Regions from separate parts of the Homo sapiens genome. Here all the other regions are linked to region 5. The links are contacts of gene promoters, found by promoter capture Hi-C in blood cells and fetal thymus (Javierre and others, 2016). All regions are on one chromosome and are shown on one strand. Each heading gives the region's core, a stretch centred on a gene start or on the middle of the fragment in contact. The rest is flanking DNA. Distances are from core to core; before and after follow the strand shown. Region 1 holds the start of TTLL5 (tubulin tyrosine ligase like 5). Region 2 has its middle 3.6 kb from the start of CIPC. Region 3 holds the start of PPP2R5E (protein phosphatase 2 regulatory subunit B'epsilon). Region 4 holds the start of VIPAS39 (VPS33B interacting protein, apical-basolateral polarity regulator, spe-39 homolog). Region 5 holds the start of SLC39A9 (solute carrier family 39 member 9). Region 6 overlaps ISCA2 (iron-sulfur cluster assembly 2).

Region 1 (2,700 bases), core at 163-2,662, 6.3 Mb after region 5:
CAGCAATGGCCCAAGACAGTGTGAAACACCGCCGCCCCCCCCCGCCAACTCCCCGCCCCAAACAAGCAATAAAGAGATCTAGAGAAGGAAGGGTGAATTGATGAGCCCTTCAGGGAGAGCTGGATCACAAAGGTGGTCTCTGTCGAAGATCAGAGAGACTGAGGGTCTACTGGACATCACAGGCCATTATCATTTGGGCCAAGATCCACCCATCCTCTTTATTTTCTCACTCTCTCTCAAGAGGAGACTCCTCCGGGGTTTAGAAAAGCTGCATGGATGCACCTCTCCACTTTTCTGCACAAGTATGCCTTCCATTTCACAGAAGTGTTATCTGTTAGAAATCCCAACAGATAGCTGATGAGGACAGAGCCTGAGCACTTCTGAATTGCTCTGCCAATTTCTCAACCTAATTTCCCTAAAGCTTAAGGGCCTCTTAGAGTGTATACAACATCTATTTCCAAATTTTGTCCTGGCCCTGGCCCAGCCCAGCCAAGCCCAGCCCAGCATAGGTGTGCTGTTAAAACTTAATCAGGAGAAAGGGATTCTTATCCTGGCCCTACCACTTAGTAGCTGTGTGACCCTGGGTAAGTCATTTACACTTTTCAGTCTCGGTTTCCTCATCTGCAAAATGGAGATAGAAATATCAACCCGAAGGGCTATTGTAAGAATTATATGACAAAAAGTGAAGGCTCTTTGTACAGTGCTAGGCTCATAGTGGCTGCTCATTCGCTCATCCATTCCTTCGTTCCTTGAATTCACCAAGCCTTCTCCATCTTCCTAGCTCCCCCTTGTCATCGCCTCTCGAAACCTTTTCCCCCCAAAAGGTTGCCTTCCAGTTATCTTCCTTCCATCCCACCTCCATTTTTCCAGACTCTCCGGATCCTCTCAATCAGAAGCAACACAGACACCTACATCCCTCTTCTCCCCCATATTCTCCTTACCTGGCGACCGGGCCCCCAGCACAGCAGTGGCAGCAGCAGCCGCTGCCGCAAACAAGCTCCCCCAGGACAGCTCCAGCCCGGAGTCCACCTGAGCCATTTGTCCCCGCCCCCTCCCTCAGCCCTGCTCCAGGATTGGGCCGTTTCCGTCAGTACTCTCTCTGATTGGCTGTCCCGGTTTCGCCCGAGCAGGAGATGGGGAGTGAACCCCTTTACTGCCAATCAGCGGTTGCCGCTGCCTAAGCCTCTCCCCAGGTACGCCGCTCACGCCGTAAGCCCTCCTGTTGGACCTAGCGGAACTCCGGGTTTGGAGTCAACCTCTTAGGGGCGGAGAAAAAAACAGCGGAAAAAAAAAAAAAAAAGAAGACTCCCTTCAGCTGAGGGCAGGGCTCTGCGCCCGCGCTGCGCGGCGGTGACGACATTCGCCCGCGTCCGCAGCTGAGCGTTATGAGCGCCTGCGCAGTGGCTCCGAGCGGGCGGTTGCTTGTTGGTTGTTGTAGTAACCGGGGAAGCAGCCGTCGGCGGCTGCCCTGAGCCTTCCTGGGGAAGGAGGAGGGAGGTAGGCGCAGAGCGCGGTCCACGCCTGCTCGCCCCGAACCATGGGAAGATGAGACAGGTAAACGCCTGCGCCCGCGCGCTTCCCTACCCTAGGGAGGAGCATTCCCGGGTCCGGGCTGGCGCCTGCAGCAGGACTTCCCGCTCAGAGCCCGGGAGTAGCTGTTGGCTTCCGGGCGCGCCGCGTTGAATCGCGGCTGCGGGGTCGTCCCGTCCTTCCCGGGGGGAGCATCTGCGGACCTACGTGGGATTGGGGTGAGCTGGGGGTGGGGCTGAGAAGCAGATTCCTTTCGGGAGAGGAGTCTCCTTAGGTGAGTATCTCTACTCTTCTTCCGATAGACCTGTTTCTCCCCGCTCTGCAGGCAGCCTAGGAGAGGTTGGCATCCCTTCCCGTTTGGAGGTTTTGTTTGTTTAAACTTAAAGGGCTTCCCAGCATTTTGGGAAAGATCAAGAAATCCCGTTGAGAATCCCCTGAAGAAAGCCATTGAAGTTGTTAGACATTGCCTATTGCGCCGAAGATCTTTGATCATTATCGGGGTCTGTTTTTTTTTTGTCTTATTTACAGTCTCATCGTATTTATGAATGCATGGAAAAGTTAAGAAGGATTGACAGCAAGTAATTATCGCTGAGTAATTTGGGATTATGGTCATTTAAACATGTTTCTTTTATTTGTAGTTCCTATTTCTTCTTCTGACACACACAACGAACATGTACTTTTTTACTTTAGAAAAAATATTTTAAGTTAGAAATGCAGTGTTGGAAATTTCCTAATTTCATCGTCTATTTGAGAGTCGTACCAAACTTTGTGATTTTTAGGAAGAATAATTTTTAAGAGTGGAAGGGCATTCCTCCCCTCCCCCACCTATTTATATGGACCTTTGATTCAAGAGAATATATTCATCTTTCGGTTCATTGTTGAATTTATTTTACTGGAAACATGATGGCATCTTGTCAGCGTGCTTGTCATAGAGTCTAAATAAATGTTGGCAGGGGTTTTTTGTTGTTTTTTTTTTTTTGAGACGGAGTTCACTCTTGTTGCCCAGGCTGGAGTGCAATGGCGCGATCTTGGCTCACCGCAACCTCCGCCTCCCGGGTTCAAGCGATTCTCCTCCCTCAGCCTCCCGAGTAGCTGGGATTACAGGCATGAGCCAGCACACCCGGCTAATTTTTTGTATTTTTTTTTTTTTTTTTTAGTAAAGACGGGGTT
Region 2 (2,700 bases), core at 133-2,632, 7.7 Mb after region 5:
GCTCTACCACTTACCACGGGTGACCTTGGCAAGTGACGTGGGCCTCCATATCTGAGCCTCCTGCTCTGTAAAAAGAAAATAATGATACTACACCCATCTCATAGACAGTGGGAGGATTAAATGAATAAATGTAGGCAAATCACTTAGGACAGCATCTGGCAAATAATAAGCACTACGTGTTGTTATGGAAGAATTTGTCTTGGGTTCTAGAGTATCTTGGTGTCAAGCAATTCCTTAAAGGAATTTCAAGTATCAGCAAGAAGACAGAGGGCTATGTGGGAAGGGTTTACACTGTCTCTAAAATCAAAACCTTCACCTGTATATGAACAGCCTGACCATAACCTGAATATTACCCTTTTAGTGTACCTGCTCTGCCAAATACTTCCCTAAAATATGAGCCAAGAACCAGTCTGGCTGGTGAGGGCCTTGTTACCTGACTGCTAAGGGAAAAAAGGTCATACATCCCACTATCACTGGCCTCTGCCTCTGCCATCTGGCACCTGTAGATCCCCCTGCCCACACAGGCTGGAGCCCCTCTCTTCTCTCACTGACCCATGAGACACACTTACCACTCCATCAAATCCTATTTAAAGACTTATGAAGTGATCAGCACCAATAATGCTAGATGCTAGATTCAAACTACAGGATAACTATTTTACAGACGGCCAAACTGAGGTTCAGGAAAATGAAATCAATGGTTCCCAAACACCAGTCCAAGAACTGTTGCCAGTCCTTGTGGTGATGTTTTCACCAGTCTTCAGCCAAACTGGAAAAATAAGACTAAAAGCTTTAAGTTTTTCATACACCCGAAATTATTCTATTTTTAAATTGTGAGGTTATGTCCTATCTTCCCTTCTGTGTATACGGAAAAGATATCAAAATGACCCTTCTTTTGTAAAATGATATTGATAGGAGCTGGAATTTGAAACTAGATCACTGACTTTCACCGTCTCCTATTACACTATTTTAATTACTTCTAAATTTTTTTTTTTTTTTTTTTTGAGACGGAGTCTCGCTCTGTCACCCAGGCTGGAGTGCAGTGGCACAATTTCAGCTCACTGCAGCCTCCGCCTCCTGGATTCAAGCAATTCTCCTGCCTCAGCCCCCTGAGTGGCTGGGATTAAAGGCGCATGCCACCATGCCCAGCTAATTTTTGTATTTTCAGTAGAGACGGGGTTTCACCACGTTGGCCAGGCTGGTCTTGAACTCCTGACCTAGTGATCTGCCCGCCTTGGCCTCCCAAAGTGCTGGGATTACAGGTGTGAGCCACTGCGCCTGGCCCACTTTTAAATATTTTTAAATGACTTTAATTTTAAATTCAACAATTATTAAACAATCGTTTATAAATATTTTAAATTGTATAACATAATACACTTAAAATATCTTCAAATAAAACTCGGCCCATGGCTGACTCTTCATGGTATCCTAGGCAGGGTTAAAAACTCAAATCCTCACACGGATAGGCAGGTTACAATTTCAAGAAGTAGATGGGAAAAAAAAAGAAACATTCGCAAGTCCCTAAATGTAGGATTTAAGGGCGCATGTCTCCCCCTGCTGGTTGTGGTGGTAGGAAACCGAACCTAGACCACAATGGTACTGGGGAGAACTTGAATTGGAAAGGACCCTACAGCAAGAAGAATAGGTGCTTCAGAACCCACTATCCATCACAGGGTCCTTACCCCATCCATCATAGGGTCCTTACTCCAACCAAGAGTAAAGAGAGTAAAGTGAGTGAAGGTTAAAGAATTCGTGGCACCAGTAAACTATCAATAGATGCTGATTTACAAATCTTGGTAAATTAATAGGAAAGGAAGAAAAACGTTTACGGTGGTTTAGCTACATAAAAATATTCACTATCAATCTTCATGAATTGCTTATTCTGTATATCTAATTATATAGAATCATAGCATAAAATAATCATAAAAATTATGCCTATCATTAGTCTTGATTCATTTGGTTCCATTACAATACTTGTCTGAAGCTTAAGTTATTGGTACAGCATGGCTGTCTGCTCAAGATGTAGGTAAAGTCAAGGAAGTTTGGTTTATTTGCCCCTTCGGAGGACTAAGAGGGCCTCATGCTTTCGCATATTTCACTGATTCTTTTTTGCTTGGTATGCATTATCCCCTCACCTGCTTCCATTATTGCAAACCCAACTTTCAAGCTGTCTTTAAAGCTTTACCTGCTGGTCTCTTTCTACTCCAACAACCGAAAAAGAAAGTTTTTTTTTTCTCCCTTAATGTTATTGTTTTGTTCAGAATCTTTTGGTAGTTATCCCATTCTCTTTCATATTGCTTATTACATCATGTCTTATTTCCCATATCAGATTGTAAGTTATTTGAAGGCAGACTTTTATTCTTTTTTTTTTTGAATTTTATTTTTGTTTTGTTTTTTATTTAAGTTCAGGGATACGTGTGCAGATTCGTTACATAGGTAAACTTGTGTCATGGCGGTTTGTTGTACAGATGATTTCGTTACCCAGGTATTAAGCCTAGTATCCATGCTGCTGTTTTTTAAATTTTTTATTTCCATAGGTTTTTGGGGAACAGGTGGCATTTTGGTTATATGAGTAAGTTCTTAAGCGGTGATTTGTGAGATTTTGGTGAACCCATCACCTGAGCAGTATACACTGCACCCAATTTGTAGTCTTTTATCCCTCACCCCCTTCCCACCCTTTCCCCTTGAGTCCCCAAAGTCCAC
Region 3 (2,700 bases), core at 162-2,661, 5.9 Mb before region 5:
ACATCTTATTTGTACGTTGTAAATTTAGGGGCCGATTTTCCATTCGGGTATGTGAATTATTTAGACTTCACTCTAACTCTAACACTACAACATTTCAGTAAATCCTCTTCCTCCATCACTCTTTTCGTCTCTTCTTTATTCCTTATCTCTCATCTCTACAGACGATATATAGGTAGCTTTTAAAAAAATCATTTACCCCTTATGCCCGAGGCCCAGAATAAACGTCAAGGATCGCAACCCTGAAGCACTGCAAAACTGAACGTAAGGTAACAGCGGGTCCGTGCAAAGCCCAGGGAAACAGGTTTCGCCCTGGGCCAGGGCTCCCGAAGCTTTATCATCCTCTAATCAGCAGGCATGGGGCATTTCCATGGCTCAGGATAATCCAAAGGGGGTAAGGGGAAGTAGGGAAAGACAGGGAAGGGGTTTGTCTGTGGGGATGCTTACATACTCCCTTTGCTCCTAACCCACACCCCAAGCCCTGGAGACGATAAGCTGCTAGAGAATCCTCCTCACACCAAACCCCTCTTTATTCCCCGCCCCCGCCAGTGGATAAAGGGGGGCAAGAAAACGCCTCCAATCCCAGAAGGTGGAGAAAAAGGGGGGAGGGGGCAGAGTGAATGAGAGGTATCATCAGAAGCATTTGTAGGTAAATCAGACAAGTGGGACGGGCGCTCCCGCTCCCGCACCCCACCCCACCGCACCCCTCGCCTGCCCGGCCAGGCCTTCCCAAGGCCGGTGCCCCATAGGTTCCCCAGGAGGACCGGGAGGAAGAAGGGAAGCGGGCGAGCCGCGGTGCTGGAGGGACTAAGTTACCTTGAAGCTTCTGGGGAAGAATCCAAAGATGATCTGTGGCTTGGAGGGGCGGGAGACGGGCGAGGTGGCCGCAGCGGGGGCGGGCGGCGGGACCGGGACGTGCAGGGGGAGGTCCGGGCAGCTGCGGGGAGCCTGGGGCGACGGCTGTCCGGTACGGGGTCCCTCCGGTTCCGCGGCGGCGGAGCCTCTAGGCCTCACGGCCGGACCCGAACCTCAGCGTTCCGGTGGCGGCGGCGGCCTCACGATCCTCCCCCGCGGGCCCGTCCCATCAAATCGGCACCGACCCCGTTGCGGCTCCGCCGGTGGCTCCTCGCTCACATTCCTGGCGGGCGGCGCCTCAGCTCGTTGCCCCGGACCCGGCGGCGGCGGCGACGACGTGGGGAGGGGGGGAAGGGAGGGAGGAAGACTGGATCTGCAGCGGCAGCAAGAGAAGGGGACAGAATAAGGAGGAGGAGCCGCAGGAGCTGGAGCCGCCGCTGCCAGAGCCACCTTTCGCTACCCGCGGTGGGTCCCAGTCAATGCCCCTTTCTCTCTCCTATTGTCAATATCACCGGGCGGCTGAGTCCATGGCACACGCGCAACCGAACCTTCTGGCCAGCAGCGCCCGCCTCCGGCGCCCGCCCACTGGAGACTTCAAACGGGAAGCGAGGCCTCATTGGCCAGTATCCGCCTTCACTCCCCTGACAGCATGTTCGGCTGAGACCTGATCAGGGATTGGCGGCAGGAGGGCGGAGAAACGGGAGGGTGGGAAGAGAGAAGGTCGAGGATTGGGCCGAAGCTTGAGGAACCCGGATGCAGCCGCGATCTCGGGCGGTGCAGCCGCCGCTTCCGCCCGGCAGTGGGGCAAGCTGAAGTGAGAAGCCGCTGGGCCTGAGAGGAGCTCTTTAATTCCGGGAGGTGTGCGACTAGCGGATCAGCGGGCTGGCTTTCCGTGCTGTGCGGAGCCTTTGGGCGGCGGTCGTCTTGGACCGGAGGATTCCAAGGGCTCGGGTCGTCTAAGGGTCGGGGAGCCCCGGAGACTTGATCCCGCCCTGCAGCTAGTGTGGCCCCTCAGGGTTTGGGGAGTCCCACTCTGGACGGGACCCTGTGATGCGTAGGCAGGAATAAGATCCCCCGCCCGTGCCGGTGTGCCACTGCTTGTGTAAATGGGCCCCTTGAAACCCCCAGCAGTCGCTCTCCGCTGAACCTTCTTCGAATTTTCTCTCACCTCATCTCCTTTTCCTTAAACGTCTGTTTTGAATATCAGACCCCTGTAGCGTTGAAGCCAGCGCTCGTTTAATTAATGCAGGTGGGAACGCTGTCGCCACAGTTTGCAGTCTATTCATTCAGAATAACCCGCCAGTCAGCCGACTGCTCAGAGCTCGGAAAGACCCAGCTCCAAACTAGGAGTTTCGAGATTTTAATTGGCAAGTTGGACCCGAAAGAGTTAATGGAGAAGACTACTTAAATCTATCTAGAACAAGTGATGAGATATTTGGAGATGTGTTTGCATGCTTGGTGAATGCAGACGGCCAAATGGTACATTTCCAGATAATATTCTTGGATTAATGTATTTGAATGCACCCTACGTACATTTTTTGAGAGGAAAAAAGGAAGAAAGAAATTATTAATGCTAACTACAAACGTCAGAGTACCAGTTGTTCAAAACTTAGAAATTGGGGGGGGGGACAAAAAAATTAACATTCTTATTTTCTCAACTCAGAGATAACCACTTACAGTATTTGCATACTTCCTTTTAGTATTTTTTCTCTTTATGTTAATAATGTGTGTCGATCTGTAGCCTAGTTTTTTCCCTCAGCATTATATCATCTTTTCGATACGGTTAGGGAATAGAGCTATATATAAATAAAACTATATGTACCATATGTACAAGTGACAACGAAAAAT
Region 4 (2,700 bases), core at 135-2,634, 8.1 Mb after region 5:
TAAACCAGTTAATACATGTAAAGTGCTTAGTGCCTGACCCAAAATTAACACTCAATAGTAACTTTTATTATTAATACATCATCCTGGTACCTTGGGAAAAGCTAAAAAAGAAAATATTTTTTAGCAATCCTAAAGATTAAAAAAAATACAAAAATTCTGAGTAGCCACAAATGCTGAAGATGTGTATAGAACATATAAATGTCTCTGGCACACATGTCAGTTCATAAATCACTCTGTCATTCGTTTGATCCTCAGAACAATCTTGTAAGGTAGGCCTGGGAGATTCCATTTCCATGTTACTCATGGGGAAAGTGAGGCACAAAAGAGTTCAGTATCAAAGCCACTTTGTTAAATGCTCCTATTTCAAATTACAATCCAGGCTTTCTGGCTCCTAGACCATTTCTAGTGTCTTGCATGGTCCTTCTACCTATTTTTCACTTTCCAGAAAACTAGAGATCATTCCTTCACTATAGTAATTATCTACAGATAGACATAGAATGTGTCTAACAAACACAATAATCTACCAGAGGATTTCTGGAATCTTTTTAACCATGCAATGGCAGTAGACAACTGCCATCAATTTGTATTTATAACGCCAAATGAGAAGCTAGGTTTACTTGGCAAGTATAGATAATGATCTAGTGGCTCTAGAGTTATAAAGTAATCAGGTACGATTGTCACTCTTAAGAGTGACAGGTGCTTCAACATGATTTAAAATACTTCAGAGGTTTGTCTTTATCGTCTCTTGTTTACTGACAGCCCACAAGGCAGGGTGAGAGACCTCAGGGGAGAACAGGAACTTTACAAAGGAAAACAGAAGAATCAGCAAGAAAACCACAACATGCTCCCTGCCTCAGAAAACTCCAAAAACCACCTACTGAGAAGTCAGACTTGGTTTCAATTATCTTCCGAGCCAGGAAGATACAGGTGAGGCTTGTGAACTGAGACCAGGGAACAAGAGTTAAGCTAGGATGACTCTACGGGTGAACGTCCAGGAAGCCATGGATCTACCGCAGTCGTCAGAGCCCAGCGGATCCCTGGCAGAGTTAAATGCTCGTTCTGAACCAAATGTCCGCTTCCGAACCAATCGCTGGTGCTCACTCGCAGCCCCAGTCCCAAGCGTACTCCAGCGCCCAAGGGTCGCCCTGACTGAAAGAAGAGAATCAGGCCTGTAGTCATAGGGTGTAGGGATGCCTCCTAGAAGAGGGGAAAAGATCAAGATGCGGAGAGGCTGGATCCAGCCAGATACGCGACCCAAGGGGCTTGGGACACCCTCACCTCTTCCGCACAGAGCCCTCCCTCTCAGGACAGCGCCAGCCTCCGCCGCCGCTGGACCAGCCCTTCTATTCAGGCTGTGCAGCTTAGAGAAGGGGGCGGAAGGGAATAATCGTAGGGCGGAGAGAAAACACGAATAACGAGACCGCAGGGCATGCTGGAAGTCGTAGTTTCTTCTGCCTCTGCTGTCAGGCGCTGTCCCGACGAACCACAAGGCTTCTTGACTACAGCCCCCAGAAACCCCAAGCACCGTGCTAGGTCATTTCCTCTCCTTTCCGCGAGACCTTCCGCGGTTATCCAGCGAGTCACGTAGCAAGACTACAATTCCCATGAGGCTCAGCAAGGGCGATTTAGGGTCCAGGGAAGCAATGAGACGTGTTCTTTGTTTTCCTATGGGTGAGGAATGGTTGTATGAGCAGTTGGGTTTCGGGACGCTTTTTGGGGAGAACCCGATGGAGTCTGAAGGATCTCTAAATCAGGCGGAACCCACGGTGCGGCGAGTTGGGACGGAAGTAACCGGTGGGAGTGGGGAGGAGCCGGAAGTTAAGGAGGGGAGGGGGTGGAGGGAAAAGCAAGCCAGGAGGTGCTTGCGGCCGCTTCTAGTAGTTTCCAGGCGCTGCCGGGCGGCTGGCACTAAGCGGTCCTGAGGCTGTGGCTACGGCTGCTCCGGAGCTGGTGGCGCCGCGATAGGAGAGCCGATGGCCAAGTGGGGTGAGGGAGACCCACGCTGGATCGTGGAGGAGCGGGCGGACGCCACCAACGTCAACAACTGGCACTGGTGAGGGCCAGAAAAGCAGGCCGGCCTTGGGAGACCTGCGGCCGGGCCAGGGTTTCAGGGTTCCTAGAACCTCGGCCCGGACAGAGCTGGGGCTGAGGTAGCCCTGTCCGGAGATGGGGGTGGGTCCTTCCTGTGGCAGGGGTCCGTAGCCCCAGGCCTCTCCACTCCGCGGTCACCTTCTCAGTGTTTGAGGGGAGGGAGATGGACGTGGAGGGCTGCGCCCCAGAGGAGGGTTGTCAGAGAGACTAGGAGATAACGCCCTGGCTGCTGCATCCAGCCCGAGCAGGGAGGTGCTTATTACACGTGGCCAGAGGAGTCACTGAGACTGGAACCTCCTTTGATTGTGTTGGGAGATAGCTGTGAAAGGCCTAAGGCCAGGGGTCTGTAATTCCTATTTTGCGGCCTGCGGTAAAATTAAAAGTCATTCATAGGGGACCGCTGCAGCGGTCCCGCGGGAGATTGAGAACGTGTTGTGCAGGTGCTCAGAGCTCAGATAGCTGCGGCCTCTCACCCGGAACTATCAGGTCGGGTGTGTTGGAACTCCAGGTTGCCGAGCAGCCGTGGTTTTATAACCTGACCGTTCTTAAAATAACTGCCCTCCTTCATGAAATCTTCCCAAAGTAATATTAGTTTCCTTATTTTTGAAT
Region 5 (2,700 bases), core at 187-2,686:
CCACCTCTCAAGCCAGTTTTGGTCACTTTCTTCGAATTGGAGCTTACTGATCATCCCGGTTGGGTTCTAATAGAGCTGGTCTCTGAGCTGAGCCTACTTTTCAGCCTCCAGCCCCAAGAGGATATAAATACAGATAAGTACAGGATCGAGGGCTGAGGGACGCGCCACACGCAATACCTAGAGGTCTCAAAAACAGGAAAAAAAAAAAAAAGGCAGAGCACAGGAAAACGAAAGCTGAAAAAACACTGCAAAGCAAATACGTCCTCTCCTGGCCCACATGCTGGGTATAGCTGGATCTGTCAGCTTCGAGAATAGTTAGACAACCCTGGCCCATTGTTCCTACAGCAGGCTAGAGCATTTGGAGGGAAAAATACCATATCCGGCAGGGCCCGGTGGCTCACGCCTGTAATCCCAGCACTTTGGGATGCCGAGGCGGGTGGATTGCTTGAGGTCAGGAGTTCGAGACCAGCCTGGCCAACATGGTGAAACGCCGTCTCTGCTAAAATAAAAAAATTAGCCGAGCGAGGTGGCGGGCGCCTGTAATCCCAGCTACTAGGGAGGCTGAGACAGGAGAATTGCTTCAACCCAGGAGGCAGAGGTTGCAGGGGTCTGAGATCCCGCCACTGCACTCCAGCCTGGGCGATAGAGTGAGACTCTCTATCTCAAAAAACAAAACACCTCCCCCACGTCTCCCTCTACCGAGTAACAATCGGGAGAGAGTTCATCCTCAGGCCCAAGGCACGCCGGACCCGAGCGAGCAGGCGGGCGCGCAACCGCAGGGCGGACCGGGGCTCCGAGGCCTAGAGTCAGGCCTGGCGTCCCTGCGGCGGGAAGAAGGGTCAATCCACCGACTAGAGTGGCGGGGAGCATCACGCGGCGCTGCATGGGGCTCGTGGGGAGGGGAAAACGTATGGGGCTGGGGTCGCTCTGGAGGCCGGGGACTCGGACTCGGGTAGCCGCGGAGGCCTTTCTCACCATCGCGCCAAACTCTCTTCGCTACAGCAGCTGCCGACACCGCCGCCGTTACACGAGCTTAACTACAACGCCGCTAACAGCCAATCCTCGCGAGAGGAGCCGCCGGAAGTCGTCGAAAGTGCAACGCAAAAGAGCCTTTTGGATCATAGAGGCACAGTCACTTCCGGCAGCTAGAGCAGCTACTGACTCTGTTTCAGCCATCTTCGATAAAGGCAAAAAGGTAAGGGAAAGTTTCCAAGCTTTAGGAAGAATTATTTTTTTTCAAGACGCTGTCTTCCGTACTTTCGTTATTAAACATACGGCTCAAGTGATCACCGGTATAGACAGTGACATCAGACATCTTTCATTAGCCCTACTCAAAAATGGCGGCAACGTAAGTATCCTGGGCCGGAGGTCGGTTGTAACCCGGAAGTGCCTTTGTAAAGGAGGGGGTGGTTAGACAATCCGGAAGTGGATGGAATGAAGAGATGCCACTTGGCGGCCATGGCAGCTGTAGTATCGGCGACTCCGGGTCAAGGCCCGGTCGAGTGCAGTACCATGGGCAGCACCGGGTATAGGGCAGAGACAGCTTTGTGTCAACTTTGCTGCTGAACCCCTAGGACCCATCGTTAGAGACCTGCAGGACTCCTTTCCTCATCCCAGGCTCGGAGGAGAGTTTGCTGGGACTGGTGGGCTGGTTTCCTGCTCTGGGGGGCGGATCACCTTCGGGGCCGCCTCTTGGAGACAGGGGCGCCTAGGGAACGAACAGGTTCGCTTGAGTCACTTACCCGCCGCCGCCTAAGACATTGTGCCACCCTCAATCCGACAATCGAAGAAATCGATCATTCGCACATTTTCCCCATTGACTTTTCCCATCTCTGTTAACCCACGAGAATCTAATGACTGGCATCTGAGAACCCAGAGCCTGGGACCTTAGATTGCTGTAAGCTTTCTCTGGTGCTAATATCAGCAAAAAGGGTCTGTTGCCGGGTACGTTCAAGAGGAAGGTGCCTCGTGAACACATCTGCTGGTGGGAAGGCCTAAAGAACTGGAAAGCCCACTCTCTTGGAACCACCACACCTGTTTAAAGAACCTAAGCACCATTTAAAGCCACTGGAAATTTGTTGTCTAGTGGTTGTGGGTGAATAAAGGAGGGCAGAATGGATGATTTCATCTCCATTAGCCTGCTGTCTCTGGCTATGTTGGTGGGATGTTACGTGGCCGGAATCATTCCCTTGGCTGTTAATTTCTCAGAGGTAAGAAATTCTCAATTTTCTGTCAGCTGTCAGGATGGCTGTGAGATAGTAGTTTTAGTTGCAAAGGGAAGCTGCTTCCCTAGTTAAATCTCAAAGCTGAAGGTCTCATTAAGAAAGACTATCTTTTTTAAAAGATACATGACACTTAATAATAGAAAGAAACCTCATATTCATTAGTGGAATTCTTAACCTGGGGTGGATAGATATTCCACGGAAGATCCTGGAGTATTCTGAATCCCCTAGAATTGCTTACAAAAATTTGAGGTTCTGTGCATTTACCTGGAGAGAGGCACCATAACATTTCTTTTGATTCTCAGAGGTTTCATGGAATCAAGATTCCAGATTGTTATCAAGAAAATAAATGGAGGGCTGGGCGCGGTGGCTCACGCCTGTAATCTCAGCACTTTGGGAGGCTGAGGTGGAAGGATCGCTTGGGCCCAGGAGTTCTAGACCAGCCTGGGCAACGTGGCGGGACTTTGTCCCTACAAAT
Region 6 (2,700 bases), core at 45-2,544, 5.1 Mb after region 5:
CTCCTGTGGGTCATCTTTCTCTATCAAACTTTGATGTGATGACTGGTGACTCTGGGATTGTCACCAGTTGTACCAATTTGAAGAACCTGGAATTAGTAGAATTCTAGAAGTTTACTTCTAATCATGTCCCTCTCAATTTTATTTCCCGCAGTCCAGGAGTGTTATGTTTTGCCACTATTATTTTCAGAATGTGAAGATTTTACTCTTGGCTTAATTTTTCCCTCCACTCAGTGCTAAGGCTGAGCCTCCAGATGCTGTTACCTCAGATTTAATCACTGGTTGAAACTCCGTATAATCTGTAGAGCCTCCATGGCTCTAAAATTTGGAATTAACTTCTCTTGCCTTAAGAGCTGCTTGTACATATGTGGATAGCTATGTATAAAAGCTTCATTTTAAAGAAGGTTCTTATTGTGTTGTGGATCAGGGTCACAGATTGGGTAGCTTGGACACCAGTTATTAGAGGATGAGAAAAGTAAATGAAATGTTCTCTTTTTCACTTCACCCTGCCAGAATGTGCCACTTGACTTATCTTTATTGTCTATGCAACCCATTTGCCACTTCCTGTTTGATAGGACAGATACATTTTACTCTCATGCTCGTGGATCTGCTATGAGTCATAAAACCAAGAGCCCGTTACCCAGAAAACTTGGACCAAACCCTCACTGATAGTGAATTATTTCAAAAATAGCCTCCCTACTCATACAGACATTTTAAGATTCTGTGACAATTTAATGACTGAATCTTTTTAGGATATGTTGCTTTACCTGCCTTCTGTTGTAAAATGGCTCTGGTCTCATGCACAGCAGGAAGTGATCCCTTTATTGTTATAGGTAATAGATTCTTGGGAACCTTTTTTTAGATTGGGTTACCAGATGAAATGTAGGATGCCCAGTTAAATTTGAATTTCAGGTAAATAATTTTTTAGTATGCATATGTCTCAAATATTGCATATACTAAAAATTACTATTTGAAATTCAAATTTAACTCATATTTTTATTTGCTGACCTTGGCAACTCTGCTTTAGGGTCACCAAACAGCTTTTAAAATCACAAATTCTAGTGAATTAAAGTACTTGTGTAGGTGTGGCACTTAAATAGGCTTCGGAGCTTGAAATAATCCTGTTAGAGTACTGTGGAGCTGTGTGGACAGACAGTGAAAGAAATCTACCACCATCACCACACCGAATGATTTATTAATACTGATGTTGGAGAAACTACAACCAAGTTGATTCTGGAAGAGTTACTGGTTAAATCCATCTTTTGCTTGGGAGCCTAGAAGTTTGTTACAGTAAAGACTTGCATTTCTGCACTGGATTGGAATTAAGGTCATTTAGTAAGAATTTACTATTTAAAAAAATGGAAATAGAGTTTAGAAAATATCTGAGACAGAAACTTAGATACATTTCCAACATGGCAAAACCTAGGACTTAGAGAAAACAAACCTATCATGCGGTTAGAGGAGAGAAGGGGACACTCAGAAACCTGAGCACATTTCTTAGAGCTGGTGGAAGGAGGCAGAAAGCAGCATACCATGGGAGCATCTGTGTGCACACATGACCAAGACAGTGCCGCCAGTACCTGCGCCTGATAGGGTTTCAGTTCAGACTACCTGTCCTTTCATCCTCCTTAAAAAGATTTTGCTACATTTTAAACATTAGAATATATTCTTTAAGAATATTTTTGTGGGTTATTTATTGATTTTGTGGTTTTAAAACTCTTGAGCACGAGCAGAACAGCTTTTGTTGCTAAATCAATCAAATTACAGTGGTGCACTAGACAGAAACAGTCCCTTAGAATGCAGCTTATATGTGAGTATCTACTGTTAATGGGAGAATTGGAATTTTATGTTTAGAAAAAGGCAGATTTGGGGCTGGGCACGGTGGCTCACGCCTGTGATCCCAGCACTTTGGGAGGCCAAAGCAGGCAGATCACCTGAGGTCAGGAGTTTGAGACCAGCCTGGGCAACATGGTGAAACCCCATCTCTACTAAAAATACAAAAATTAACTGCGTGGTGGACACCTGTAATCCCAGCTACTCGGGAGACTGAGGCAAGAGAATCACTTGAACCCAGGAGGTGGAGATTGCAGTGAGCCAAGATTGCACCACTGGACTCCAGCCTGGGTGGCAGAGTGAGACTCTGTCTCAAAAAAAAAAAAAAAAAAAAAAAAGGCGGATTTGGGAAAATCATGTTACTTCACACTGAGAAAGCTTCATTGGGAAACCAGAAGTGGCAGCAGGAAGTCTCCATTGGTGGAGACTTTATGTTGTTTTTCAAAGAGAAGGTCTCTTGGTCAATGCCCAGATCTTATTGTGGTACCATACTTGAGTTATGTGATGAGAGTGACCAAGGGTATGTAAATTATGTGTCCCATCCACTCTTAGTTTCTTTCTTTTTATTTGAGGCAGGGTCTCAATCTGTCTCCTAGGCTGGAGTGCAGAGGTGCAGCCTCTACCTCCCAGGCTCAAACAATCTTCCCACCTCAGCCCCTGCAAGTAGCTAGGACTACAGGTGCACACCACCAAGCCCAGCTACTTTTTGTATTTTTTGTAGAGATGGGGTTTCACCATGTTGCACAGGAGTCTCGAACTCCTGGGCTCAAGCAATCCTCCTGCCTCAGCCTCCCAAAGTGCCGGTATTACAGGCACGAGCCACCATGCCTGGCCCACCCATAGTTTCTTCGTATGGGAATGTTGAGTGAT

The links. The method cuts DNA at HindIII sites, captures the fragments that hold promoters and counts their contacts. A CHiCAGO score of 5 or more calls a contact.
Region 1: a contact is called between the fragment with the promoter of TTLL5 here and the fragment with the promoter of SLC39A9 in region 5, in 1 of 17 cell types (non-activated CD4 T cells). The highest score is 5.9, in non-activated CD4 T cells.
Region 2: a fragment that was not itself captured here is called in contact with the fragment with the promoter of SLC39A9 in region 5 in 3 of 17 cell types (total CD8 T cells, non-activated CD4 T cells and naive B cells); the score reaches 11.9 in total CD8 T cells.
Region 3: a contact is called between the fragment with the promoter of PPP2R5E here and the fragment with the promoter of SLC39A9 in region 5, in 1 of 17 cell types (non-activated CD4 T cells). The highest score is 9.9, in non-activated CD4 T cells.
Region 4: the fragment with the promoter of VIPAS39 here is called in contact with the fragment with the promoter of SLC39A9 in region 5 in 1 of 17 cell types (non-activated CD4 T cells); the score reaches 8.2 in non-activated CD4 T cells.
Region 6: a fragment that was not itself captured here is called in contact with the fragment with the promoter of SLC39A9 in region 5 in 1 of 17 cell types (non-activated CD4 T cells); the score reaches 5.7 in non-activated CD4 T cells.

The regions. Positions count from the first base shown.
Region 1 is chr14:75,659,834-75,662,533 of GRCh38, forward strand. TTLL5 (tubulin tyrosine ligase like 5) reads left to right here and starts at 1,413. Exons shown (of 32, transcript NM_015072.5): 1 at 1,413-1,554. It overlaps ERG28 (ergosterol biosynthesis 28 homolog), which reads right to left and starts at 1,043. Exons shown (of 5, transcript NM_007176.4): 1 at 942-1,043. RefSeq lists a silencer at 1,105-1,154 and an enhancer at 1,265-1,484. The HindIII fragment of the contact is 4,369 bases long and covers 420-2,700 here.
Region 2 is chr14:77,093,316-77,096,015 of GRCh38, forward strand. No RefSeq gene overlaps it. Among named protein-coding and RNA genes, the nearest start is that of CIPC, 3.6 kb to the right of the region's middle. The HindIII fragment of the contact is 1,194 bases long and covers 786-1,979 here.
Region 3 is chr14:63,541,966-63,544,665 of GRCh38, forward strand. PPP2R5E (protein phosphatase 2 regulatory subunit B'epsilon) reads right to left here and starts at 1,412. Exons shown (of 14, transcript NM_006246.5): 1 at 814-1,412. LOC112268140 (loricrin-like) reads left to right here and starts at 819. Exons shown (of 1, transcript NR_158218.1): 1 at 819-2,699. RefSeq lists silencers at 908-1,047, 1,088-1,227 and enhancers at 1,464-2,455, 1,518-1,727. The HindIII fragment of the contact is 771 bases long and covers 819-1,589 here.
Region 4 is chr14:77,456,217-77,458,916 of GRCh38, forward strand. It overlaps VIPAS39 (VPS33B interacting protein, apical-basolateral polarity regulator, spe-39 homolog), which reads right to left and starts at 1,385. Exons shown (of 20, transcript NM_001193315.2): 1 at 1,279-1,385. It overlaps AHSA1 (activator of HSP90 ATPase activity 1), which reads left to right and starts at 1,877. Exons shown (of 9, transcript NM_012111.3): 1 at 1,877-2,053. The coding sequence starts at 1,974. RefSeq lists enhancers at 1,183-1,705, 1,324-1,783, 1,706-2,228, 1,954-2,133. The HindIII fragment of the contact is 4,049 bases long and covers 1-2,700 here.
Region 5 is chr14:69,397,256-69,399,955 of GRCh38, forward strand. SLC39A9 (solute carrier family 39 member 9) reads left to right here and starts at 1,437. Exons shown (of 7, transcript NM_018375.5): 1 at 1,437-2,210. The coding sequence starts at 2,115. ERH (ERH mRNA splicing and mitosis factor) reads right to left here and starts at 1,044. Exons shown (of 4, transcript NM_004450.3): 1 at 976-1,044. The coding sequence starts at 978. RefSeq lists enhancers at 44-552, 553-1,060, 1,262-2,461, 1,390-1,729 and a silencer at 1,053-1,293. The HindIII fragment of the contact is 688 bases long and covers 1,213-1,900 here.
Region 6 is chr14:74,494,967-74,497,666 of GRCh38, forward strand. It overlaps ISCA2 (iron-sulfur cluster assembly 2), which reads left to right. Exons shown (of 4, transcript NM_194279.4): 4 at 1-2,140. The coding sequence ends at 34. Among named protein-coding and RNA genes, the nearest start is that of ISCA2, 2.6 kb to the left of the region's middle. The HindIII fragment of the contact is 1,823 bases long and covers 384-2,206 here.